7 separate regions of the Homo sapiens genome follow, and all the other regions are linked to region 6. The links are contacts of gene promoters, found by promoter capture Hi-C in human tissues and cell types (Jung and others, 2019). All regions are on one chromosome and are shown on one strand. Each heading gives the region's core, a stretch centred on a gene start or on the middle of the fragment in contact. The rest is flanking DNA. Distances are from core to core; before and after follow the strand shown. Region 1 overlaps TLN2 (talin 2). Region 2 overlaps TLN2 (talin 2). Region 3 overlaps TLN2 (talin 2). Region 4 overlaps TLN2 (talin 2). Region 5 overlaps CA12 (carbonic anhydrase 12). Region 6 holds the start of TPM1 (tropomyosin 1). Region 7 overlaps LINC02568 (long intergenic non-protein coding RNA 2568).

Evidence for each region. Contacts are between HindIII fragments. The study calls those that stand out against the background at their distance.
Region 1: a contact is called between a fragment that was not itself captured here and the fragment with the promoter of TPM1 in region 6, in 1 of the 25 tissues and cell types used here (lymphoblastoid cells).
Region 2: a contact is called between a fragment that was not itself captured here and the fragment with the promoter of TPM1 in region 6, in 3 of the 25 tissues and cell types used here (bladder, mesenchymal stem cells and thymus).
Region 3: a fragment that was not itself captured here is called in contact with the fragment with the promoter of TPM1 in region 6 in 1 of the 25 tissues and cell types used here (H1 embryonic stem cells).
Region 4: a fragment that was not itself captured here is called in contact with the fragment with the promoter of TPM1 in region 6 in 1 of the 25 tissues and cell types used here (mesenchymal stem cells).
Region 5: a contact is called between a fragment that was not itself captured here and the fragment with the promoter of TPM1 in region 6, in 1 of the 25 tissues and cell types used here (lymphoblastoid cells).
Region 7: a contact is called between a fragment that was not itself captured here and the fragment with the promoter of TPM1 in region 6, in 1 of the 25 tissues and cell types used here (mesenchymal stem cells).

The regions. Positions count from the first base shown.
Region 1 is chr15:62,731,757-62,735,355 of GRCh38, forward strand. All of the region lies in intron 28 of TLN2 (talin 2), which reads left to right. Among named protein-coding and RNA genes, the nearest start is that of MGC15885, 88 kb to the left of the region's middle. The HindIII fragment of the contact is 4,474 bases long and covers 1-3,599 here.
Region 2 is chr15:62,749,671-62,752,870 of GRCh38, forward strand. TLN2 (talin 2) reads left to right here. Exons shown (of 59, transcript NM_015059.3): 34 at 732-821; 35 at 2,635-2,757. Among named protein-coding and RNA genes, the nearest start is that of MIR190A, 73 kb to the right of the region's middle. The HindIII fragment of the contact is 6,490 bases long and covers 1-3,200 here.
Region 3 is chr15:62,682,821-62,686,169 of GRCh38, forward strand. All of the region lies in intron 11 of TLN2 (talin 2), which reads left to right. LOC105370855 (a long non-coding RNA gene) reads right to left here. Exons shown (of 5, transcript XR_007064673.1): 2 at 1,162-1,284; 3 at 38-236. Among named protein-coding and RNA genes, the nearest start is that of MGC15885, 39 kb to the left of the region's middle. The HindIII fragment of the contact is 4,732 bases long and covers 1-3,349 here.
Region 4 is chr15:62,557,907-62,561,573 of GRCh38, forward strand. The region is part of intron 1 of TLN2 (talin 2); the gene reads left to right. Among named protein-coding and RNA genes, the nearest start is that of MGC15885, 85 kb to the right of the region's middle. The HindIII fragment of the contact is 5,903 bases long and covers 1-3,667 here.
Region 5 is chr15:63,349,196-63,352,767 of GRCh38, forward strand. All of the region lies in intron 2 of CA12 (carbonic anhydrase 12), which reads right to left. Among named protein-coding and RNA genes, the nearest start is that of CA12, 31 kb to the right of the region's middle. The HindIII fragment of the contact is 8,588 bases long and covers 1-3,572 here.
Region 6 is chr15:63,040,366-63,043,996 of GRCh38, forward strand. It overlaps TPM1 (tropomyosin 1), which reads left to right and starts at 2,382. Exons shown (of 10, transcript NM_001018005.2): 1 at 2,382-2,578. The coding sequence starts at 2,465. RefSeq lists enhancers at 1,326-2,240, 3,154-3,631. The HindIII fragment of the contact is 3,976 bases long and covers 1-3,444 here.
Region 7 is chr15:63,432,654-63,436,195 of GRCh38, forward strand. All of the region lies in intron 6 of LINC02568 (long intergenic non-protein coding RNA 2568), which reads left to right. Among named protein-coding and RNA genes, the nearest start is that of LINC02568, 44 kb to the left of the region's middle. The HindIII fragment of the contact is 3,127 bases long and covers 1-3,026 here.

The sequences.
Region 1 (3,599 bases), core at 429-2,928, 310 kb before region 6:
TTACCTTGGTGCCTTGGTATTTCTCCAGTGTCTTCAAATAAATGTTTTATATATGTTTTCCAGAGTTTCTGTGTGGGAAGGCTGATTTTCAGTAAGTTATTCTGCCATCACTACAAGCAAAATCCTCTTTGATTTGTAAAAACTGTATACATTTATTACTTTGAAAATAAAAATTTTAATGAGCACAATAGGAACACAAAGTTATAGTACAGTATATAAAGTACCTGCAATAATAAGAATGCAAAATTTGATCCCAATGGGAAGGTAGGGGAAATTTTCAGAGCAGAATTGACACTTAGCGAGGGCTTTGTGGATTGTTTAGGACTCCTTTAGCATTCTAGGAGGAGGAAAGGTATGATAAAATTCTTAGAAAATCATAGGGTAATATGAGAGATTTAAATTTCAAAAATGTCTACACTTTCCCGAAATCTTGCCAGCTGTTGTGTAGATGATGAAATGCATATTTAGTAGAGAAAAGACTACTTTACATGTTGCGTCATCTCATACCAATAACACCCAGGAAGACATGCTGTCTAGTTGGTGTCTGAAAAACAGCCTAGAAGTAGCCCCATTTAATTTTGGCAGGCACTGGAAGGCAGTTGCATAAGTGAGCACTGCATGTATGATGCCTTAAAGATGAGAGAAGGATGATGGAAGGAACTGAAGATGGTGAAAGTAATAGGCAAAGAGTAAGTGAGAAATAAGAGGATAACGCTGAAAAGTTAGGCCAGGGTCAGATCCTAAAGGGCCTCATAAGCTAAAATAAATGAGTTATACTTTAATTGAAGAATATGTGAACATGTTTTTCATCTGTGGACACAGTTCAGATTGCTTTTTGTATAGGTCGCCCTTCCTCCTGTGTGTAGAATGGATTGGACGGAAACAAAGTGGTAGGCAAGCAGGCTGTTGCATTAATCCAGGTAAGAGATGGTAGTGTCCTACAGTGGAGACGAAGTGGTCGATTGAAGAAGCAAAAACCCAATCGTTCTTGGTGACTGGTTAGAAGTTGGTGGAGATGGTAACATGAACGGTTCCAAGTGTTTGGCCTTATAGCTGAGTGAAGAGTTGTATGAATCACTGGTGGGAACACAGGACCATTGGTAGGAGCAGGGGAGGTGAAGCTCAGGAATGCTGGGTTCGGCACTAGATATATTCCATTTGAAGTGCTTGGAGAATATGCAGTGAGAGCATCATTAGGCAGCTAAATCTTTGGCTCTGAAACTCAGTAGAGAAGGCTGGGCTGGATGATACAGATTTGAAAATTATTGGTAAAATGATAATGATTGGAAGTAGATAATTTTGCCAACAGGGAGTGGTAGAGTGAGAGACAGCTTATCAGTTGTAATCCTGAAGAACCTGGCTGGTTAGGGAGGAAACTGGCAATGGAAATCTTTGAAAGAAAGAAGAACATGGAGCTGTGGAGAGGGCAGGGAAACCAGGAGAGAGGGATGTCTCTAGAGCCATAGACACAGTTGCTGCCCAGAAAGTCATGTCAAATGGGAGACTTAAGCATCCATTAGCTTTAGGAATAAGGAGATCACTATTCTCCTTGTTGAAGGCAGTTTCAGGAAGGTTGGAGAATGGATGGGAAGCAAGGAAAGAGAGAGCGTGTGTGGAAAACTTCTCCATGGGTCTCAGTTTCCTTGTCCATAATTGAGGTGTGTGGGGTTTTCAGAAGTTGCATGTGAGCTGCCACTGGGCTGTATTCTAATGCAAGTGTGTTTCTGTTTGGCCAATGCAGTCTTCAAAATATATTTCTGTATAGCTGATTACAATTACACATAACCCTTTGTAAATACTTTGGAACAGATAAAAGATTTGTGTCATACCTGGTCTTTGTCTTCTGAGGTTGCTATGTGGCCCAATACTGTCTGGATACACAATCCACATGAATTCTGGTGAAGAATAGCAACCATTATGTAGAATGCTACTATATTTGATATCACTTGATATGCCTGTATAAGACTCTGTTACTAAGTATCATTTAAGATCCAGATGGCAAGAATACTGTGAAAGTAATCTGTGTTTTCAAAGGACTGTGGTTATTGAAACAGAAATCTGCTTTAGTATTTCACACTGGTGGTTCTGGTATTGTGGTGCACACTTTGACTACAGGAACAGTTCCATTCGGTGGGTGTTGTTTGCTTGGGGATCTGATCCTGTAGTGATGACCATTGAGAATGTTGCTGTGCGTTCAGCCATGCACCGCCATGGGTGTTCACTGGGCTTTCTGACCTCTCGTGGCCTTCTTTCGTCCTTTTGATGGTATGGGCTTCCTGTTTCCAGAAACCTCATCTCTCTCAAGAAGATCCTTGATGTGCTTTGAGATTTCACAGTGAGTCCTTAGCAGAAAACACATGGGATGGACCAGGTTGTTCTTGGAATTTAGCTCTTCGGATTTCTGCGTTTTTTTAAATTGTATGAGTCTATGAAAGGTTTTTCACTAAATGGGTTTTGCATAAACATGTCTTTTCTAATTACATATGATAAATGATTTACTCCTCCAAACTTACATATGACTCAAATAGAAGTGGATTCAAGAGTCCATATGACAAATGGGAAGACAAGAGGAGAGGTCTAGAAATCACAGCCTAGAATCTGCAATGGTCAGAGCTAGGAACTCAGCCTCTCCTAAAACCCGTGAGAAAGGGAGGCCCAGAGGGAAAAGGCAGCAGTCTAGACCACACAACTAATCAGCAGCAGAGCCAGAGCCAGATGAGGTCTTAACTACATCTGGCGCTTTTCTGAGCAACAGCATCCTTCAACCCTGTGCCAAAAGCTTAAGCGTAAAATGGAATGACCATTCTCCTCAGATTGTTTCTCTCCTTCACCTTAGCTTTGTTCACCTTTGTGCTTTCTCTTCTGGGCTTCTCCTCTGCCATAAAAAGCACTTAGTTTAAAATTCTTTTATTCTGCCAGCTGTACTCAGAAGTGCCATGGGATAAATGATAGATTGGCAGCTTTGTCATTTACCTTGATTAGATCGTAGTTTTATATCCCAGCTGTGTGATTTACTAAATATTTACATATTAGCAAGTCTGCAGCACTGCAAACCCATCTGGTTTTATGGATCTGAGGCCTTTCACACTCTATTGTATCTCAGAGCCTCACCCTCAGTGAGGAAAAGACCACCTGCTGTGGAGGTGCTGACTCAGCTGAAGCAGTGGCTGGTAAAGACTACACTCACTGGTGCCGAGAGACCTTCCAGCTCAGTCCTGTAGAAAACAGTCATTTCAAAAGTTCAGTGCGAGAGAGACACTGATTTGCGTATTTTTCACGTAGATCTTATATGTTCTAACAGAAAGGGCTCATAGTTCTCTACTGCAAAGAGCACTATAAAGAATATTTGACCTCAAAGTGAGGAAAGCTCAGATCTAGCTCTCTTGCCACCTCTGGAAGTGTTTGTGGGCAAGATATGTCTCAGCACCAGGCTTCATCTGTGAAATTTCATGAGATGAGCTCTAGGGTAAGCTGTTCAGCGATTCTCAGGCGTTATATGTGTCCTGGCATCTCCAGTCTTCATCCTCTTCTTGGGTGTGCCAAGGACTGTGTGCCAGGTAGTAAGACTCACGTTTATTCCGCATGAGGTGGTGCTACAG
Region 2 (3,200 bases), core at 193-2,692, 290 kb before region 6:
ATTGCTGGGTCCTAATGTACATTCTCACTCTCTGGGGAGGAGGTTAAATGGCTGCATCCCCAGGAAAAGTCCCTTACAAGTGGTGATCAAGTTCATTACAATGCCATGACAGAGCTAGCCATGGTTTTTGGTGGCTTAGAGACACAGAGCCAGGCCCTATACCCATGTATTTCTTTGATGAGGACCTAAACAACAAGAAACGTTTTCTATACTGTTTAAATTAAAAACAAATGAACCATCACAATGGACAGTTTGGGGGAATTACCTTCTTTCATGCCTTCCTATTAAAATGTTCCAAAATTGGAAAAACTGAGGGTTCTTACTGGTCATGAAGAAATGAATGGCCTTTTGAAATTTAAACTCCTTAGAATTATCCTGCTGAGAAGTTGTGCTAATTGACCACGCATGTATTGCCTTGTATTAATGTTCTAATATGTTTTAAATGCCATCCTTCTGTGTTTACCTTGTTTCTTCTCCTTCAAAACTGAAAACAAGAGATTCTCATCTCTGGCCAAGCTAACCAGAGACCCCCTCCCCTATAATGAGCATTGTGTTGCTAACAGGAAATCTGAAGTCATGATACCATGATGTAAATTCTCAAACATCTGAGTAAAAGTGATCATGACCAGAAACTTGTGTATGGAGGGAGAGTTGATAGTTGGCAGTTGATGTTGAATTTCTTTTGCTCTATGACATTTGCTTGCTTTTTATGTTGTGTTCTTCTTCTGTAGACTGTGAAGGGGATGTTGGACAATCCTAATGAACCTGTTAGTGACCTCTCTTACTTTGACTGCATTGAGAGTGTGATGGAAAACTCCAAGGTAAGACTGCCTATGCCGTAAGTCAGAAGTTAGCATTGCTTGTCAATGTGGGGAGAAGTTTAGACGTGCCTTCTGTGCATCTGCCTGTGGCTGGTCTGCAGGGCTAGCCACATGTAGCATGAAGCCTATTTGTGGAGCCCTTTGCTCAGGAGCTTCTCAAACTTGACGGTGCATCAGAATCACCTGGAGGGCTTGTTAAATACAGATTGCCTACCCCCAAGTTTCTGTTTCAGTAGGTCTGAGAGGAAGCTGAGATTCTACATTTCTGACTATCTCCCAGGTCCTGCCCCTGTGGTCCAGGAACCATACTTTGAGAACCATTTCCTCTCTTTTTTCACAAATGGGTCTTATTGTAAGTCAAATCGTGTATTTTCTACACCGGAACTGATTTGGAAAGTCCTTCAGTAACTTGACTTACGTGGGATCCTCTTATGTGTTCTTTTGCAGTCTATTCATGGCATGCATTCTCAAGGAGGGTGAAATTGTTTTGTTTTGTTTTGTTTTGGTAGGACATTGGAGAGATGTTGAAAAAAAATTAAGATAATATAATGGCTTGTTACCCTGCTCCTATCTTAACCTTACTCAACAAAATCTTATTCTTTGGCATTTGATTAGGAAAAAAAACATAAAAGGCTCCTTAGTGGAACAATAATAAAAAAAAAAACTGTTGAGAAACACTCCTCTGTAGTAATCATACCAATGTCTTTTGAGAATGCCTTCAAATCAGAAGGTGAAAATCAAATGCAAGGGAGAAGAATGGATGTCGAGCTGTTGCAATCTGGCTTTGTAGCTGAAACATGGTCACTTTTATTCTAGCGGGGAAACATCTGTGCTGGTAATGTCAAAAGGACTCTGTTTGATTTGGGCTAAAACTAGAATTTCCTCATCCAGTACCTTTTATGGAATTATGGATTGTCTAAGGGAAAGATGCATACACACTCAGATCCAAAGAAATGGTTCCTTTTTTGCAAATCCTTATGTAAACTGGATTATTTTGTATATCTAAGCAATTTTAGGGAATTTGTTCCCTTCCAAGATGGCTTATTGACAAATAGTCTCTGCCTTGGGTTCTAGACCTGGCAATACCACAGTCTCTCCACAGGGTAAAACATCCTTCAGTTCCATCATTGTTGCCAAGGAAAATATGACCAGCCCTCCTGGGGCATAATGAGGGAACACCAAATTTACATTGGGCACCCTGTACCTGCCCATGTGACCTTCACTGTGACCTTGTACAGGATGCATGACCACTCTGGGTTGGATTCTGAACACTAAAATCTCTTTCAGCTGTGATTGTAAAGATCTCTGAAGAAAGAATACACCACACCAGTGATTTTCAAAATAAGGCAAAATTCTTACAGTATTTAGGAAACATACTTAACAAAGATCTCTATTTAAATTTTACTGTCAGTAACTAGACAAATGATATCTGGAAGGGTGAGTATCATGCTTTCTGATTATGACCTCACCTACAGCTCGATGCATATGATTTTTATATTCTGGGAACTAGTTATCAGTTTAGACCATTCACCCATGAGTTGCCTTTTATAGACTCTACTATATTGTCTGTGTATATTAACTCTAACTGCTTGGAATACAGATAACTTTGGGGTTATACTTTCATTGTACTTATCTCTTTGTGGAATGGAAATGATGTAATTTTCTTCCATCTCTTTTTAATCCAAATAAAGGAGAAAATGTCAAATGTTCCAAATTAAGTTGCCTTGAATATTAAAGTTGGAGTGTAGCCTCCTTTACCCCTTGGTTTGAGGCAATGCTGGATAGAGAATGTTGCTGGCCGTTTGTTTTGCAGGTTCTGGGTGAATCGATGGCAGGGATTTCACAGAATGCCAAGACCGGAGACCTCCCTGCCTTTGGGGAATGTGTGGGGATTGCATCCAAGGCTCTCTGTGGGCTGACAGAGGCTGCAGCCCAGGTAAGGGGCTAGTCCCGATGCAGCCATGTGCCCTGTGCCAGATCCCTGTGGGAGGTGTGGGGGAACTCCAGCTGCACCTCTTTCTCCAAGTACCACCACAGAAACCATGGGAAAGGCAGTGGCTTCTGTGCTGGCTGGGGCATTTACACAAAACATGAGCCAGTTACCCCCGAGGAGCAGAGCAGCCATGGGCCAGGCTGGGGAGCATGGCAAGACTCAGTACAGACCCAGCATATAGGTTCAGAGGCCAACTTTTCAATCCTTTTAAAAGTTTTTATTATAGATGAGTTGTTTGGGGTAGAAAAATAAGCACTAAATAATTTAAATTTGCTAAGGCTTTAGAAATGCGAAACTGTTATGTCATGCTCTTTTTAGAATCAGAGAGAGAAAAAAATAAGATGCCATCATGCAGAGACATGATATGGCACATTCCTTGCCCTTCT
Region 3 (3,349 bases), core at 697-3,196, 360 kb before region 6:
TTCCAAATTTGCCTTTGAAAACTTTTTGCAGACTTACCCAGAGCCTTGAGGTGTTAGATTACCTGGAGAACAGACCCTCTTCTCCCCTCAACTGTAAAAACACCAGAGAGGGCATTCGGAGCATCTCAGAATCCCAAGTTCAGTCAAAATGGATTGCCAGTCACTTGCAGGGAGAGAAATGGCTAATAAACAGGGTCTTCAGGTTTGCTCTTGAGCAGCCTTTTTTTCCCATGCCCCTAAAAGAAAGAAATATACTGAAGACAGAGTAAAACATGCAAACCAGCCCTTTGGCCAAGCCAACCTAGAACTCTAGTGAGCTCAGCTGGATCATGGGGAGGACCCTTTGGGCTTGGGCCATATTGAAGTGAGGGTCCAGGAGCCAGAAGCTCAGTCCAGTTGCATTCCTCCATCCAGTTCTGGATCTCAGATGTGAGGCAGAGGTGATGCAGAATCAGGCAATCTCTACACCAGTGAAAAGAGCCTGCAGACAGCAGTCTTGATCACAGCTGGCTGCCAGGGCTGAACCCGTAGTTTTAGCTGAAATACGTTTGAAAGAGGAGGGCTTGGGTTTATTAGCGAATCCTGCCTCTCATTGGTAGAATGCCTGCATTCTCCCGCCTCTCATTGGTAGAATGCCTGCATTCTCCCGCCTCTCATTGGTAGAATGCCTGCATTCTCCCGCCTCTCATTGGTAGAATGCCTGCATTCTCCCGCCTCTCATTGGTAGAATGCCTGCATTCTCCCGCCTCTCATTGGTAGAATGCCTGCATTCTCCTGCCTCTGAGTTACACAAGCTGTAGACATTTTCAAAACAAAAACAATCTAATCAGGACCATCTTGAGAGAGAAGCTTCTAGATGGCCGTCAAAAATCACAGCTACAGCTCTTTGTGTGTGTTGGTATATGAGATAGATGGGTCTTCACTGGTGCCTGCTTTAGCCTGCTTTGTCTACTGGAGATAAAAGGAAGCTGGTCTGTGTAGTTGAAGGTCGGAAAGGAGTGGTTCGGGGGTACTGAGACTTGAGGCATAGGAAGGAAAGAGGGAGCTTTATTACCCTGTGGCCCTCCCGTCACATCCCTGTCACTGAGGCTCTAAGGCAGGTCTCTGCACCGGGGAAGACCTTGCATCACGATCACAGATCTCAGCCATTTGCTACTTTACCTTTCTCCAGCTGCTCTGCGTTTTGTGTGTAGGTGCTGAAGTAATTTTATCCCTTGATGGTGGTCTCTGTTGCCAGTTGCAGTATTTTTTGAGTTCCCTCAGCCCCTTTTCCTCAGTTGTGACCTGTTGATAGAGCGTCCACTGTAAGTTGTTTGTTCACTGTGGCTTCCTCTCCCAATCTGGAATGATCTTGACAAGAATTAGGGCAATCCGTCACGATTCTGTGTTCCCGCACCCCAGAAGCCCTCACTGGGGAACAGTGCAGATGGGAAAGAATGAAGGAAGCAGCTGCAAACCATATTTTATCTCCAGTCCCCTTCCTGGGTCCCAGAAGCTGGGATTGTGCCAACCCTGTGTGACTAAATTAGCTGCCTAGAGCCTATCAAGCTAAAACTCTGTGTGGCTCCTGAAGCCAAAGTAGATTAACTGACATTGTCTGCCCTGCACTGATCTCACCCCTTGTGGAACTGCCCTCTCTTTGAAAAAAATCTGACGCTTGTCAGTGTTTTTTAAGACTTGAGGTTCAGGGAGGAATATTCCCCTCCTCAGACACCCAGGTAGATTCCTCATACCATGGTGTCCTCCGTGAGGAAGCTGGGGGTGTGCGGTGACTGTCACCATCTGAGGGTTACCAGATGCCCATGGTGAGGGCGGTTGGGGGTGGGTAGGATTTGGCCTTTTCTCTTTTTGCTTCCACCAGAAGACAGTAAACTGCAGTAGACAGTCAGCTTTTGAAGTCAGAGATATTTTTGAGCTACTCAAATCTATGTTCAAATTATGGCTTTACCACTCACCACTGTTGGCTTTGGTCTCTTCACTTGCAAAGTGAAAAATGATGATACCAGTGTTTTGGAGATGCTCTGAAGATTAACAGATGGTGCTTATTAAGTATCTAGTATGTTCCAGCTCTGTTTTATGTGCCATTACCCTGTGTTGGGTGTGTGTAGACACATCCACAAATGCATAGATACTTTGTGTGAATGTATATATCTAGGCCTCTGAGAATAGCAGTTTAGGTGTTGTTGCTAGGTTTCAGCAAATATGAGTTGAAAAGGTTTTCCTGACAGCCCTAAAAATACACACTTAATAGTGAAATTTTGGAAATAAGGAAAAGCATGAAAAAATAATACAAAACACATGAGATGTTCAGTGCCTTTTTCATGTAATGGACATAGGCCTATTTTTAAATTTTTATTTCCTCTAAGATTAGGCCCTATATTCTGTTTTTTAATAATATATTATGAATAATTTACTTCCATAAAACCAATTGTTTTTCTACAATATGATTTTTAATAATGTAGGGTAATCTGTTATCTGGATATATCATAATTTATGTATCAAGTCCTGTGTTATTGAAAACTTGGATTGTTTCATCTACAGCCATACCACCCTGAATGGGCCTAATGTTGTCTGAAAATTGGGTGGTTTCTAGCTTTTCACTATGATGTACTGTGGTTGAGCTTCATGTGGCATAATCTTTACACACATTTATAACTTTTTTTTAAACTAAATTTCTCAAAGCTAGCTGTGTCAAAAGTAAGGACTTTTTAAGGGTTTGGATAGATAGTGACACATTTTCCCCCATGAAGGCTTTGCTATCTTAAGCTTTCATCACTAGTGACCCGCTTCACATCTTCCTCAAATCTGAGTATTAATTTTAATAAGAAACCTTAGCTATTTTAAGTGAAAACTTATTTGCTTATTTATTTTAAAAACATTTTCTGTTCATATTCTTCAGCAGTTATTTTGTTGATTTATGAACACATCACATAGACAGTATATGAAGTCTATTGCCATTACATTCATTGTAAATATTTATTGCCCAGTCTTTTTCATTTTTTATGAGGTTTCTTTAGCTTCTGCTCTCCTCCCCCTGGTCTATCAAAAGTATGTATATTTTGAGTTAAGCATATTAATCGTTTCCTTTATGGCTTCTTATGTTGGTGTTTTTCTTAGGAAATCATTTGTCACCCAAGGATCACAAAAATATCCACTTGGATGTTCTTCCTAAATTATTAATCTGTCTCTGTCTTTAATTTGTTTTGGTATGAGTGTGAGCTAGGGTTCCATTATTTTAATAGACATTACTATATCTTAAAACATTATTAAAACTAGTTATAAAATAAGTTTTAAGAATCAGTAGATATACAAAATTCCAAAACAAAGAATCCAAACAGAAATATATTTC
Region 4 (3,667 bases), core at 986-3,485, 480 kb before region 6:
TTTAAATGAAAGGTTTTGCGCCAGTGGTTCTTGGAGCCCTGTGTTCTGCAGAGACGCCTCAGTGGACTGCAGGGTTGTACAGCTCCTGATCTCATTGCCTATTTCAGCCAAAGCAGCTCTGCTTTTATGCATCTCTGTTGCTTATTGGACTTCTAAGTGGAATTATATCTGAAGAAAAGACTTTGCTAAAAAATTTGAAAGCTATCATTGTAATTCGTTTTACTAATTTAAATCGTGTTTGTATGGGTGATACTGATCTTGTCTACATAACTGTGGACATTTTGTATCTCAACTCAATTTTGCATTTCTCAAGGAAAATTTTCTGGCAGGAAGGATTTAAAAATGACTTTGTCATCCATCTGATGTAGATATTATAGGATTTCGAATGTGTAGGCATGTGTTTGGGTCAGTTGTGTGCATGTCTTATTTCCTCTAGTAAATGGTGAGCTTCTTAAGGACCTGCTTGTATCTTATTTATTTTGTTTTGCATTCCTGCTCCCACCATTACTCCTGAGCACCTACCACATATGTTCAGGATGTAGTTCCTATAGAAGAAGAAAAATCATTTTCTTCTTCAACCTTCATAGATTCTTAATTGGAACAGACCCCGTTCTTAGTTGGAACAGACCCCCTGTAACAAAAGACAGATTTAACAAGAGAAAAACCAAATTATTGACATGTATATTTTATATATACGTGGAAGATACCCAGGGAATGAGTAGTTCTCAAAGAGAGGTGGCTTTGAATTCTAGCTTATATAGCATCTTCAACAAAGAACAGTAGGTTTTTAGAGAAGTGACAACACTAAGGAAAAGGATTTTGAGCCTCTATGGGCAGCAGGTTGGGGGAAGATAAGTAACTGCAGATAACGGCTAGTTAGCAAAGTTTGTTCACGTAGTTCCCTCTGGTACCATCTCCAGGCAGAGAAGTGAGAAGCATCTAAAGCTGTCTGCGGTGGTTAACCTTTGTTCTCCCTGATAAAAGAGGGGGCAGGATACCTTTCTTCTTTGTAAACACATATCCTGCTTTTAGGCAGATACAGGGAGAGCAGAGAAGCTTTCCTGCATTTGCTTCTTCTTAATTGTCTTCAGCCCAATAATCCTTCATATTTTGGGGTGGCCTATTCTGGTCTCCCACATTCCTGATTCTCTTCAAACCCCTGTGAATGAACATCCACTTTCCCTTCAGCTAGTGATGTCACTGAGAAGGCAGGAGAGGAGAAATTCAGAGGGAGGAGTCCTCCAGCAGCCTGACTTCCCTCTTGACTCTCAGTGTGCAGGCGAGTTGTTAAGAGAGCTCTAAATAGCCTCTTCTGGGGATTGCTGCATTTTACTAGGATCACCGAAAATTGAGGCGGGAGAGCTTGCCAAGAAAACCTCTCCCAGTTCTGCGTGGGCTACAATCTAAGTAACTGAGGCCAGCGGATGTGGACTGAGCCTAGAGGAATTGTGGTAAGGAAGCCTTGTTTCATGGTGGGATTATCAATGTTGTCCCCAATGTTCAGCTACACCCTTCCTACTCTTCATGGCCAAATTGGAGAACTGTCTCTTCTAAGCAGCTTTGTTTGGCTCAGAGTGAGCTGTGCTCTTTATTCTTTAGCCAGACCATGTGCATTATATCACTAGCACTTTCTTGTGCTCGTGCCACCTATTCTGCAACTATCTAATAGAGGGTTTGGTCTTCCACACTAGCTCTGAGGTAGCACTGTTGCCATAGCACCTGACATATACTGAGTGCTTATTTTAGGCAAGGCTCTTTGGTGGCAATGGAAACCCATTCATACCAATTTGGTAAACAAGGAAGTTTCCTGTATGCTTTTGGAAACAAAGGGCCTTGGGGATCACCAGAACTGGGGACTGAGGCACTGAAGGTGCTCTCCTGGGCTCCCACGTACCTGGTCCCTCTTTTGGTGGGGGGGTGTGCTTTATCTTATTATCCAGATGAACTTGCAAGGTCATTATTACCTCCCAGTTTCCAGTAACCTTCTGTGGCTGTCCTAATCTTTGTGACTTCGTAATCTTCCAACCACTGAACTAGAGTTCCACCAAATAGAATGGCTCAGTTACCAGGAAGAATTCCACTGGCCAGAATTGGCCTATTTGACCGAGACCACACCAGTATTAGATCCCTGGCCTGGAAATGGATTAACTGCCATAGGGTCAGGGCTCTACCCCTGCCTAGATGGCTTCGGGAAAGTGGGAAGGTAGGGCAGGTCCCTGGGGACCAAAGGCAGCTCCTTTGGGCTGGGCAGACCACAAAACACATCTCTTACATTATTTAAGTATTTGCTAGAGAAAATGATTCATCCTATTTTCCAATTCTAATACTCCGTGTTTTTTTGTTTGTTTTTTTGAGACAGAGTCACGCTCTGCCACCCAGGCTGGAGTGCGGTGGCGGTATCTTGGCTCACTGCAACCTCCACCTCCCGGGTTCAAGTGATTCTGCTGCCTCAGCCTCCCAAGTGGCAATGACCCAGGCTGGGGTGGAGTCTTGGGGTATGGAAGTCATGTTCTCTAGAAGTAGATGGAGCCACCTAAGTGGGCCCGCCTAGCTGGGATTACAGGCACCCGCCACCATGCCCAGCTAATTTTTGTATTTTTAGTAGAGACAGGGTTTCATCATATTGGCCGGGCTGGTCTCGAACTCTTGACCTCAAGTGATCCGCGCGCCTGGCCTCCCAAAGTGCTGGGATTACAGGCGTGAGCCATCATGCCTGGCCAATACCCCATGTTTTGATGTGAAATTTTTCTGTGCCTCCTGTCTTTGGTTAAGAATTACCAGGCATTCTAAAGTATGTCTTCACCTGTCTGGACGATGCCCCTGCCCTGCTCCTCAGCCCTTCTTTGCAGGGTGGACTCTGCCTGAATTGCATAATGAAGGCTGTCAGAGAGGAGGGCAGCTCTGCAGGTGATGAGACTTGAGGACAGTGTGTCACCCCTTTCCACTCATCGAGTGTGCAGAACTGCAACCGAGGCAGCTGGAGCCAGGAGGCAACGAGGGTGCTGCAGACACAGCCTAAAGAGTGGTGCCCACTTGCGTGGCTCTTTCCAGAGGGAAAAAATGATTTGCCTTTCCATTTGTACAGAATGTCGCTGCTTCCCATTCTTCCTCTACACAGAAGGAAAGGGAAAAGAAATCATTATTCCAAAACAAGACGGAAGAAAGAGAACTAGCCCCATTCAGGAAAGTCAGGTTTCTGGCAGGGCTGTGCCTTGCGACTTCATTAGACCCATGTGTTATTTTGAGTGGCGGGAATAATAGGACTTGCACCTAATCAAGGAAAGGAATTCCAAACAAAAGCTTGGGTGGGGTTTCCTGGGCAGAAGCGTGATATTGTAATAAATGGGAAGCAGGGTTCTACAGTCCAATCTCTGGTCTGATTACACAAATTATAGCAAAGGGCCTGTTTTCAAAGGAATGTAACACACCCCGCCGAGGCCCCTCCTCAGCGGGTGTGTCTTCATTTCCTCAAGCTCCCTCCTTAACAGCTAACGCCTTCGCGAGAGGAGCTGAGGGCCCTATGCGGAATAATTAAGATGCCTTCTTTAGGGTCTCTGCCTTGGGGCCATTTTACAGGTGAGTTTACCTTATGCTGAAGTCCTTTAGGGACTCCTGTGGCTAACTTCTCCGCCCTTCTCTTGCATTACTGAACAGAAAGCTAGTGCAG
Region 5 (3,572 bases), core at 614-3,113, 310 kb after region 6:
TGTTCTGGAAGGTTCCTTCTGGCTCTTAAGCTCTGATATTTATTAAGAATACTAGGACTAAGCACCTTCTCCATCTGTCAGGCAAATTTGAATGAGTCAGAAAGGTTGCTCATGTCAAGGCAGCTACTGGGCATGTGACAAGGTGCCCAGGGGAACCAGCTTCGGGAATGAGGGCACAGGGCACCGGTGCTCCAGGACTGGCTGGGATCAGACAGCCATCTGCATCAGGAACCTGCCCTGGTCCTGGCTGCCATCCACAGCGGAGTTCGTCCTTGGGCACCAGTCACAGGTCTGTAGGTCAGCAAGGTCAAGAAAGCCTTGTCTTCGCCTCCTCCTCCTCCTCCTCATTGTTATTATATTGTAGTAGCTTTGATCCTTATAACTCTATAACCTTACGGGGTAAGCAAGGCAGAATTGCACCATTTTATGGGTGAAAAATAGAGATTTAAGAGATTTGCCGGAAGTTTGACTTTGGCTAAGTAACAGTTACTTTGCTTGGGTCACAGGACTTATGTGTCCTTCAGTATTTATCCAGGAGATTTTGTGCACCTGGAATTTCCTGGCTTCCCCACGCTGTCCTTGAAGACAAGGACCACGGCTCATCCATCGCTGCACTTCCCACAGTGCCTGGCACAGAGTGGGCCCTCACATGTTTACTAAGCTGAACTCTCAACACCTGTTTCATGCTTGTTCCTTTCCCAGGGAACGTGCACCCACCTTAATTCCCTCATGTATTTCTTCTCCTCAAAAAAGAGGAGGAAAAATGAGATCACTTGCTCAGGTTCAAAATGTACCCTCCTAGCTTTCTAGCTTACCTGTGTGCAAATGGTTTCTGTTTGGGGGCACTAATTGAAAAAGAAATCTGATTTCTGCCCTGTAGCCTGGGAGACGGCCTGCCAAGGAAGTTCATAGGGCCCTCCCCCAGCATGTAATGGCTAGTGGGTGTCCCCGCCTTGCATAGCTGGGGACACTGTCAGAGCAGCCTCCTGTCTTTGTGGCATGTGAGAGATAGAGGTGCCATGAGGGTGGGCACCGGGACAACCAATATCAGAGGTGACAACAGCAGGCCTTTCTGTTCCCTGAGCTGTGACATGTGACTGCACAGTGCTGGCCTTATGCTGGCCGCTACACCCTGGGCTACCATTTTCCAACTCAGTGTCAGCTTTCACACTCATGCCAAGTGCTCCACTGCCAGAAATCCTCCACTGGGAGTGACTCTCCTAAAAGAAGCATTTATTTCCAGCTAAAACTTTGCCTTTGCTCTTCTGAGTTTTGACTTCGCCTCTCCAGTTGGTTGGACTCCTCCCATGATCGTGATACAGGAGGATCACGTGTCTTTCACAGTTTGTTTTTCTAAATAAAGCCAAGGCATTATTTCTTTCCTGTCTATGTGTTTTTCCTGCTCTAGGCAAAACAGAAGTGGTCAGAATTCCTGTTTCGAAAGGTAACAAGAGATTAACATGGCACAGCTCAAAATGCCTCTCGTGATTTCTGATTGGGAATTTTGAGGCCCAGGGTGTAGGACCTGCATTATCCAAGGACCAGAATGTTTTTACAGAAAATTTCAAATGTATACAATGTAGAGAGAGGAGTGGAATGAACCCCATGTCACCCAGCTTGGACAGTTTACAATTCAGAAACAGTCCTGCCTCATCTATGCTAAGCCCATTCTCCCCTTATCTACCTGGATAACTGGAAACAAATCCAGATATATTTCATCTGTATATATTTCATATGTTTCTCTAAAACATAAGGGCTCTTAAAACCACAGTACCATGACCACACCTAGAGAGTTAAGAATTAATACCTTAAGATTACCGAATCCAATTAGAATTCAAATTTTTCCAAATAGGTCATAAATTTTTAACAGTTTGTAAATTTCAGGGTTCACATACAGTCCATATATTTTTTGCAATATTGCAATTAGAGGATGTGTTATGGCCTAGATTACAGCTTGATGGTGGAATGCCTCATCAGAGAACACCTGGGCCCCGCTCCTCCAAGGCTCAACATCTCAGAGCCAGCTTGGTCTATCCTTTGCCCTTAGTGGGTCATGGACTCCCATGCTTCCATGGGTTAGGCCCTCGCCATGTCACACTGCAAAGGCTTCCCACAGGCAACCAGCCCCAGCCTTCCTTGTTACACTGCCAGGCTGGCTCTCCTGCAGTAACCAGATCAATCTTGTCATAGCCTGGCTTGGGTGGCACCACCCCACCACCCATCCGTACACTCCCTTTCTCCCTAGCATGCCCTGCCCCACCCCAACAAGACAAAGCACAGCCTAGCTGTTTTTCATGGCCTTGAAGTGCCCCAACCTGTCAAAGTCTTCAAAGGCCCCCACATCCCGCCCCAGCCTGCCCCATGCTTCAGCCAGCTCCCTGAGCCTAAGAACAGGCTATGCCAACCCACCTTCACAAATGCCGTTATGAAAAAATCTGCTCAAATGCCCTCTTCTTTCCTCTGCACCTTTCCAAATTTCGTCCACTCTTCAAAGTCCAGCTCAGGTCCTGCCAAAGCTACCCCAGTGCTTTCTAGTCCCTGACTTGAACTTCTCGGCCAGCCTACTCGGGTTGTGCACACTAGCAAGCAGTGATGATTGTTAGCCTGCCTCACCTGTGACTGTTAGAGCCAGACTAGTACAGAAACTTATTACAGACTAGAGCTCAGAATATGAGTTTCAAAGACCTTTGGAAGACCAGAACTTTATGTCATATCCCTACTTATGTCTGAACACATCCTTGAATGGATGTGGAGGGTTTTTTTAAGCTCATTTCAGAAATTTAGCCATAAAGGGATGAGAGAAGGGTGTATGCGTGGTGGTTATGGTAAGGTGAGGGTAATGTGAAAGATTTTGTTTTTTGTTTCTGTTTTTGTTTTTGAGACTGAGTCTTGCTCTGTCACCAAGGCTGGAGTGCAGTGGTGCAATCTCAGCTCACTGCAACCTCCGCCTCCCAGGTTCAAGCAATTCTTCTGCCTCAGCCTCCCAAGTAGCTGGGATTACAGGTGCGTGCCTCCACGCCCAGCTAATTTTTTATATTTTTAGTCGACATGGGGTTTCGCCATGTTGGCCAGGCTGGTCTCAGACTCCTGACCTAAAGCGATCCACCTGCCTTGGCCTCCCAAAGTGCTGGGAATACAGGCGCGAGCCACCGCACCCAGCCTGTGTTTTTGTTTTTTATGAAGAGGCTTGAGCAAACTGCTATGCAGACGGCAAAAGAGACCAGAGAAGGAAGGTTGGAGACAGAAGAAAGAGGGGCTCACTGATGAAAGGTAGCCATGAGAAGACAGTGGGGGGATCCAGGCACCAGAGTCAACATTAATTCTGCCCCATGACACTTCTTGGAGGTCATACTCTGAGGTGGACCCCCCTGTGTCTGTGTCAGTGCTCACTGCAGGCAGCTTCCTGGAGAACCTGCCTGGGCCCAAGCTCCAGGGTACATCTCTTTGGGCCGGCTACCAACACGCAGTCAGATCAAAACTTGCCCCAAAGGATACCACTGTAGTGGCAAAGTTTACACATTCTAGATGATGACACGCCCTTTTTCAACAAATAGGCACAATTTCAGGACAAT
Region 6 (3,631 bases), core at 1,132-3,631:
GTGAAAAGAAGAGACATCGATGGCTTTAAACTACACAATAAGGTCTGAATGTCTGAATCTGGAATTCAAGGCCCTTTATCATACAGCCCCAAGCTTCCTTTCCAGTCTCATGCCCCCATTCACCCCCAAAATCCTACTGTCCAACCACCACCAAACATTCCTTTTTCTTTCCTTGGCGCATACAACGGCCCTCCTCTCTAGCTAACTGCTACCCTTCCTTTAAAATCAGTTTAAAAGCCATCACCTTTTCAGAGAATTTTTTCCCATCTGCTCTGACCTAGTCATTTCTATTTCTTCCTCGTGTGAATTCTTAACACCTTTCTCATGCCAAACACCTGGAGGACATAGACCTGTGCTACTCATTCTTTGGATTCCAGAGCCTAGTACCTGCCTAGTATATAGCAGGTACTCAACAACCGTGTGTTTAATAAATTGCTTGTAGCATGATTTCATTTAAGGAAACTTTAATGAGTCCCTCGGCTACATATGGCACAGTAAGAAAAGAAAAGTCAGTAACATGTGGTCCCGCAAGGAGTTTCTCTAGTTCAGTTGCCTCTTTTTATAAGTGAGAAAAAAGGCTTAGAGAGATTGTAACATGGCTAAGGTCACACTGCAAGGAAGTGACCAGGCCAGGTCTGGATCCCTGGAACTGACTCCTAACTCCCTATTCTTGCCTCCTCTGCTGAGCTCCAACCTGGGGAGTCAGCTCCCTGGAGTCCACGCATCTGGATATCGTCCACATGCCTGGAACTTTGTCACTGTTCCGGTGGCTGGGTTGACACACCGTGATTAAAGGGCTCTGGTCAATTTCTGTGCCACGCAGCCCCTATGCTAATGGTCAGATCTAATGTTCTGACCATTAGGTCAGTGTATCTTTTCCCTCCTGGGCAGTTAGGTTAGTGGAAGAAACCCGATAAAATCTTGGAGAGGAATTTGATCATTCTCTGAAGGACTTACAAGTTGTTTGGCCTGCCTAATCTGCTCAGATACCGTCCGGGGAATATTTGGTAACCATGCAGTACAGACTGTGAATTATTCTGTGGGGACTATTAACAAGACCCTCACCAACCCTGCCTCAGCTGATCTCAGGGCTTGGGGGCAGCCCCCTCTCCTCCCCTCCCACTGAAGCTCTGAAAAAAAGCAGCCTTTCCCCCTTGGGAGATGGGAGGAGTAGTTAAAAATAAGAAGTGTTGGGGGAAATCCTCCTCCTTCCAAGCACAGCTCACACGGCAGAGCCTCCTCAGAGTTGCGGCTGCGGATGCAATGACTTAGCCAGGTTAACGCCGATCCCATGTTTTCCGAAACCTGGCACCTAAGCATCTAACATGGAAGGCCGACTCCCTAAAATCAGTGCAAGAAAAATGATAACAAGTTATATCTGGAGGGACCTCGGGGATTATCTACCCGCTGGATTTAAAGTTGAGGAAGCCGCGGGCAGCAAACAAGGTCTCACAGTTGCTGGTGGCAGAGTAGAGACCACAGACCAAATTGCCTGAGTCTAAACTCAATGTTCTTTCCCCTTAGACTGCCACCCGCACACACACGCACACATGCACACCTTTTTGGAGGCACTGCACAGCAAGCACAGAAGTACGCCACTGAGTCCTGTGTCCCTAAAGTATTTGACTGTCCCTCCGCTGGGGGAAAGGGCAGGCAGAAAACAAGACTCCGTGTGCTGTCGCTGTGCCGCCCCCTGCCTCTCTGACCCGCGCCCGCAGAGAAAGTCTCAAGAGCCGCCCCAGGCTTTCTCCCACGTTCTCCCTTTCTCTGCTGCAGTTGAGTTTCCAGAGCGTGAGCGCGCAGGATGACACCTGGCTGGCTGAGAGCTGCCGGGGAGGCGCTGGCGGGTGCCGAGAGCGCACTGACCCTGACGCGGGGTGCAGCACGGCTGGGAAGCCCCCGGGCCTTTGGCTAAGCGCGCCGGGGGACGGCACAGGGGGGCGACGCGCATCCACCACCTGGTCCGCGCTCTCCCGGCCTCCGGCAGCTCAGGGCGGGCTCGGTTGGGGACCCTAATGGCTGGGTGCCGGCCCTGGGAGAAGGGCACGCGGAGGGCGGAGGGTTGCGCCTCGGCCCCGGCTCGGCCCCAACGCCCTCTCCCTGGCGCGCAGGTTTAGAAACAGGGCGGCCTCTCCGGCCGCCGCCTCGGCGGCTCGGGTCCCCATATATAGTCATATCCACCGTCAACTGGGAGGCCGGCGGCCGGCAGCGAATGGGCGAGCGGCCCCCGCGGGAGGAGCGGGGAGGGGGCACGGGGCGGAGGGAGGAGAGGAGGAAGGGGGGCAGGAGAAAAAAGCTTTTCCAAAAAAGTATTGGCTGTCTTGAGGAATGCGGTCGCCCCCTTGGGAAAGTACATATCTGGGAGAAGCAGGCGGCTCCGCGCTCGCACTCCCGCTCCTCCGCCCGACCGCGCGCTCGCCCCGCCGCTCCTGCTGCAGCCCCAGGGCCCCTCGCCGCCGCCACCATGGACGCCATCAAGAAGAAGATGCAGATGCTGAAGCTCGACAAGGAGAACGCCTTGGATCGAGCTGAGCAGGCGGAGGCCGACAAGAAGGCGGCGGAAGACAGGAGCAAGCAGGTCTGCGCCTCCCCGGCCCTGCGCCCGCGCCCAGAGCGCCGGGACTCGAGCCTGGCACCCCCGGCTGGATCCCCACCCCGAGGACTCGGGGAGCCACCACCCTACCCCCACCACCACCCAGGGCGGCCAGGGCGCGCGTCTGGAAAGAAGGAAGGGAAACGCAAGAGCCAGGCTTAGTCTAACTTAGTCTGGTCTGAGGACGCTTATTTCCCTTCTCTGGTTCCCATGGCCCGCGAAATCAAGTCCTAGAGGCGCTTTATTCTCAGGACTGGGAATCAGTTTGGGGGAGGGAGGAGGACACCCGGTTCCTGGGGACGTTTGAAGGAAGGGCGAGGGATGGAGAAAGGGGGTCGAGTAACTCAAGTGTTAGAAGTTCGTTGACTTTTGACTGGGGAGAAAGGAACCTTAAACTTGGGGAGGAGAAGGGAGTCCTGGAGTTGTTACCTAAGAACAAAGATGGGGCGGAATGGAGGCTACAGCCCGAAAGCCAGGCCAGCAGTGGCGTTCTTCTGTGTCCCCAAGTAGTGGACTTGAGCCCGCTGAGACCTCGGCAGGAGTCTCGTCCCAGGGCAGGTGGGTGTGCGGGGTGAGCCGCGGAGCGGTTCCAGCTCGGGTAAAGAGGAAGTTACCTCGGGTCCTTTGCACTCCAACTCGGCGGCGCCCCGAGCCCGAGGGGCCCCAGCCAACCCGACGCCCGTGTGTTGTGTGTGTCTAACACCCGGTCCGTGCCGGCCGCCCGCGCCCGCCCGCCGCTGCCCCCAGCTCGAGGAGGACATCGCGGCCAAGGAGAAGTTGCTGCGGGTGTCGGAGGACGAGCGGGACCGGGTGCTGGAGGAGCTGCACAAGGCGGAGGACAGCCTCCTGGCCGCCGAAGAGGCCGCCGCCAAGGTACCCGGGGCGCGCGGCACGGCGTGGCGCACGAATGGCTAACTCTTTCTCTTTCTCTCTCTCCCTCCCTGTCTTTCCCTCTGTCTCTCCCGCTGTCCCTGTCCTTCTGGTTCTGTGCACCCACACCCCTCCCCTTCGGGATCACGCTGCCTGCTGCACCCCCCT
Region 7 (3,542 bases), core at 213-2,712, 390 kb after region 6:
AGGGATCCAAATTAGGAGAAAGTTGTTCCACTTGTCAACATGGAAGGAAGCGTTGTGTATTTCTTCTTTGTGGTGCCAGATTTAGCACAGGGAGGCTTCTGCCGGATAATTCGTCTTTGCAGTCGTCCTTATAGGAGGGTCTTAGCCCACCACACTAGGTTATTTTCAGCCTGGTGAAGCAAAGAGGGAACACTAGTAGCAGAAGACCAGGCTGAAGGAATTGTCTCTGCCCATGATAGGTAACAAATGGGTTTTGTGGTTCTGAGCCTCAATTCTAGAAAATGGGTGCATTAATATTTACTGTATCTAGACCTAAAGCTTTAAATAACATCTGTAGACTGAAGCCTCCTAACAACCTAACACCACTATTTTCATTTTCATTAATTCATTTTCCAGACCTTGCTCACACACATACACACTTTGCTAAGTTGCAATCATATCACACATGATATATGTGAATCAAGTGTGATTCATATATACGACCGGATTCTAGATTCATACATACGACTGTCTACTAGACCCTGCTCTTGAGACCCAGCTCCCATCTCACTGCTGCCGCTTTCTTGATCTGGGGCAAGTTACCAATCACAGCTACCACTGGGCTCTACTACGTGTCGGGAGCTTTATAAACATGATTTCTTCCTAGCACAATCATCATTCCTCATTTTACAATAGTCAACATGCAAAAATGAAGCTTTCCATTTCCTGCCCCCGAAACCTGCTCCTCCCCTCATCTGCCTCTTCTCTGTGACACCATTGGTTTGCATCCACCTGCTCAGGCCAAAGACCCAGGAGGCCTAACTCCGCTCCCCTCCTCTCCTGCTCCACACTTTTAATCCATCTGCAAGTCCTGCCAGCTTTACCTGCAAAACACATCCAGAACCTGACCCTTTCTCGCCACATACACTATGTCCACATAACTCCTGCCACCGCTTTATGAAAATAATATTTTTAAATGCAAAAAATAACATACAGAGAATTATAAAGGAAACCAATCATATTAACATCTATTTACCAAAATATTTTAAAGAATAGATTTATGAGATATTAATGTATGTGCTTTGTTATTACCACATTAAATAAAAAGATCTGGTGGCAAGTCTAATAACTATTATAATTCCAAAGTAGTGATAAGTATAAGCAATATTTCCAGAGAGCTGCAGGGACTGGATGTAATGTGATATAAAAACATCTGTGATTTCTAGTGGTGACAAAGTCCCAGGCACTGCTCATATTATTGTAGTTTGTTGCCTACATTTATCATTGAAAAGAGTGCTAAAACCTAGTTAGAGGCCGGGTGCAGTGGCTCGTGCCTGTAATCCCAGCACTTTGGGAAGCTCAGGCGAGCGAATCACTTGAGGCCAGGAGTTCAAGACCAGCCTGGCCAACATGGCAAAACCCTGTTTCTACTAAAAATATAAAAATTAGCCAGGCGTGGTGATGCACACCTATAATCCCAGCTACTCAGGAGGCTGAGGCATGAGAATCACTTGAACCCAGGGACGGGGCGGAGGTTACAACGAGCCAGGATCCTGCCACTGCACTCCGGCCTGGGCAACAGAGCCAAACTCACCCTAGTTAGAGGTTCATGAAAATAGTCTTACATACACACACACACACACACACACACACACACACACACACACACACACAACCCCCACTTAGAAGCACATAAACACACACACTCATACACCCACATACATATTCCTCCACTTAGAAGTACACAAACTCCCTACAGTCTGGTTGAGAACACGTGACTGAGTGCACACCGCAGGCGTCCCTGGCCTGGGTGTTTGCAGCAACCTCCCGATGCACCTCCAGGCATCCAGTCTGGCCTCCTCCAGTCCATTCTCAGCTTGGCAGTCCCAATGACTCCCTCCCTGTGGATGTCATATTATATCACTGTCCTACTTCGAACCCTCCAACAATAGCCCATCACCATATGTAAAATCCAAAGTCCTCACCACAACCAATGAGGCCCCAGGTCATCTGGAAACCGCCTTTGCAAAAATTATATCAGTGAGAAAAATTATAACAGTAAGCTAAGCTAAACCTCCCCCAATCTTGCCTTTCCTTTAATTATTCCTGGACTGTTGGGCTGAGCTAAATTTGGAAGACATTTAGGCTACAGTGTAAATAATAGGCCTTGTGCCAAACTCAACTGCTTTTGTAAAGCTAATGGGAGGCCATCAGGCTTGGGGGAGGAGAGAAGCCTGAATCCCGCTAAGGTGCGGATATAAACATTGTCAGCCATTATTCGGGAGGTTATAAGATATGCAGCTTGCCCAATTAGTCCTGCAAATAACACCACTATTGTAGATTGGCCTTTTCAGATATCTTTCCAGGCTTTATCCATGTCTGACACCCATGGCTCCATCTGGACTGCCAACTCCACTCCTGTGGCCCCACCCAGGAGTGATTCAGCCTTTCAAAGGACAGCTTTGACCCCCACTGATTTCATTTCCACCCCAACAAATCAGCAGTAAGCACCTATTACCTGGTCTTCCCCCAAACTGCCTTTGAAAAACCCCTAACTTAGAAGCTTCACACGATTTGAGTCCAGATTCCATCTCCCACATGGCGTGGTCAGGCTTGTGTCTATCATACTCTTTCTCTACTACAATGCTGTGGTCTTTGTTTATGCAGTGAGCAGGAAGAACCCCTCAAGCAGTTACAGTCTGGACCCTGGCTACCTCCCCGTCCTCATTTCCACCACCCTCCCCTCACTCATTTCACACCCTTCTGCCCAACGCTGTTTCTCTCTCCAGTACCCACCTGGCTCCTTCACTCCTTTGGGGCCTCTGTTCAAATGTCACCTGCTCAGAGAGGCCTACTCCGATCCCCCCTTCCCCATGTAAAACAGTCCCCCCTCCCAGTCACACTCTACACTCAGACCCTGCTTTCTGGTCCTACTGAGATGCATTTGTATGTTTCTGTGTCTTTGTGTTACAGTGGGCAGCTAGTCAGGCATAAACAGGAGGAGAGAGCCACCCCCGCCTCACCACCAGGAATGTCAGGCGAACATTAGGTGATGGTCGGGCGGTTGTTAACAGTTTCTCTTAAGGAATCATCCGTCACAGCCAGCTCCAGGGAAAGGCAGTCTCCCTATAGATAGGAAAAAACCTGAAACAAGTGATCAGTAGCTTCCTGATAAGATCAGGAATTGGGTGAGTGGGCTCACACATGTGAGCTCAAAGGCAAAATGGTGGAGTTTCACTGGTATATGACCTTATAGGAACACTTGACTGGAAAGGGGAGAACATCTCAAGTGAGCATGCGTACAACTCTAGGAAACACACTGCGCATGCTCACCTCCCAAGTGCTGGCAGGCCACTGTGCATGCCAACAGGCAACCCCAAGGAAAGAATGAGGGGAGAAGGGACGCAAGATCCCGGAAGTATGCCAACGTATAAAACCCCAAGTCAAAAGCTCAAAGCTCACTTGTCTTTCAAGTCACCCACTTAGCCCTCTTCCAAGTGTACTTTCCTTCCTTTCATTCCTGCTTTAAAGCTTTTTAATAAACTTTCACTCCTGCTCCAAAA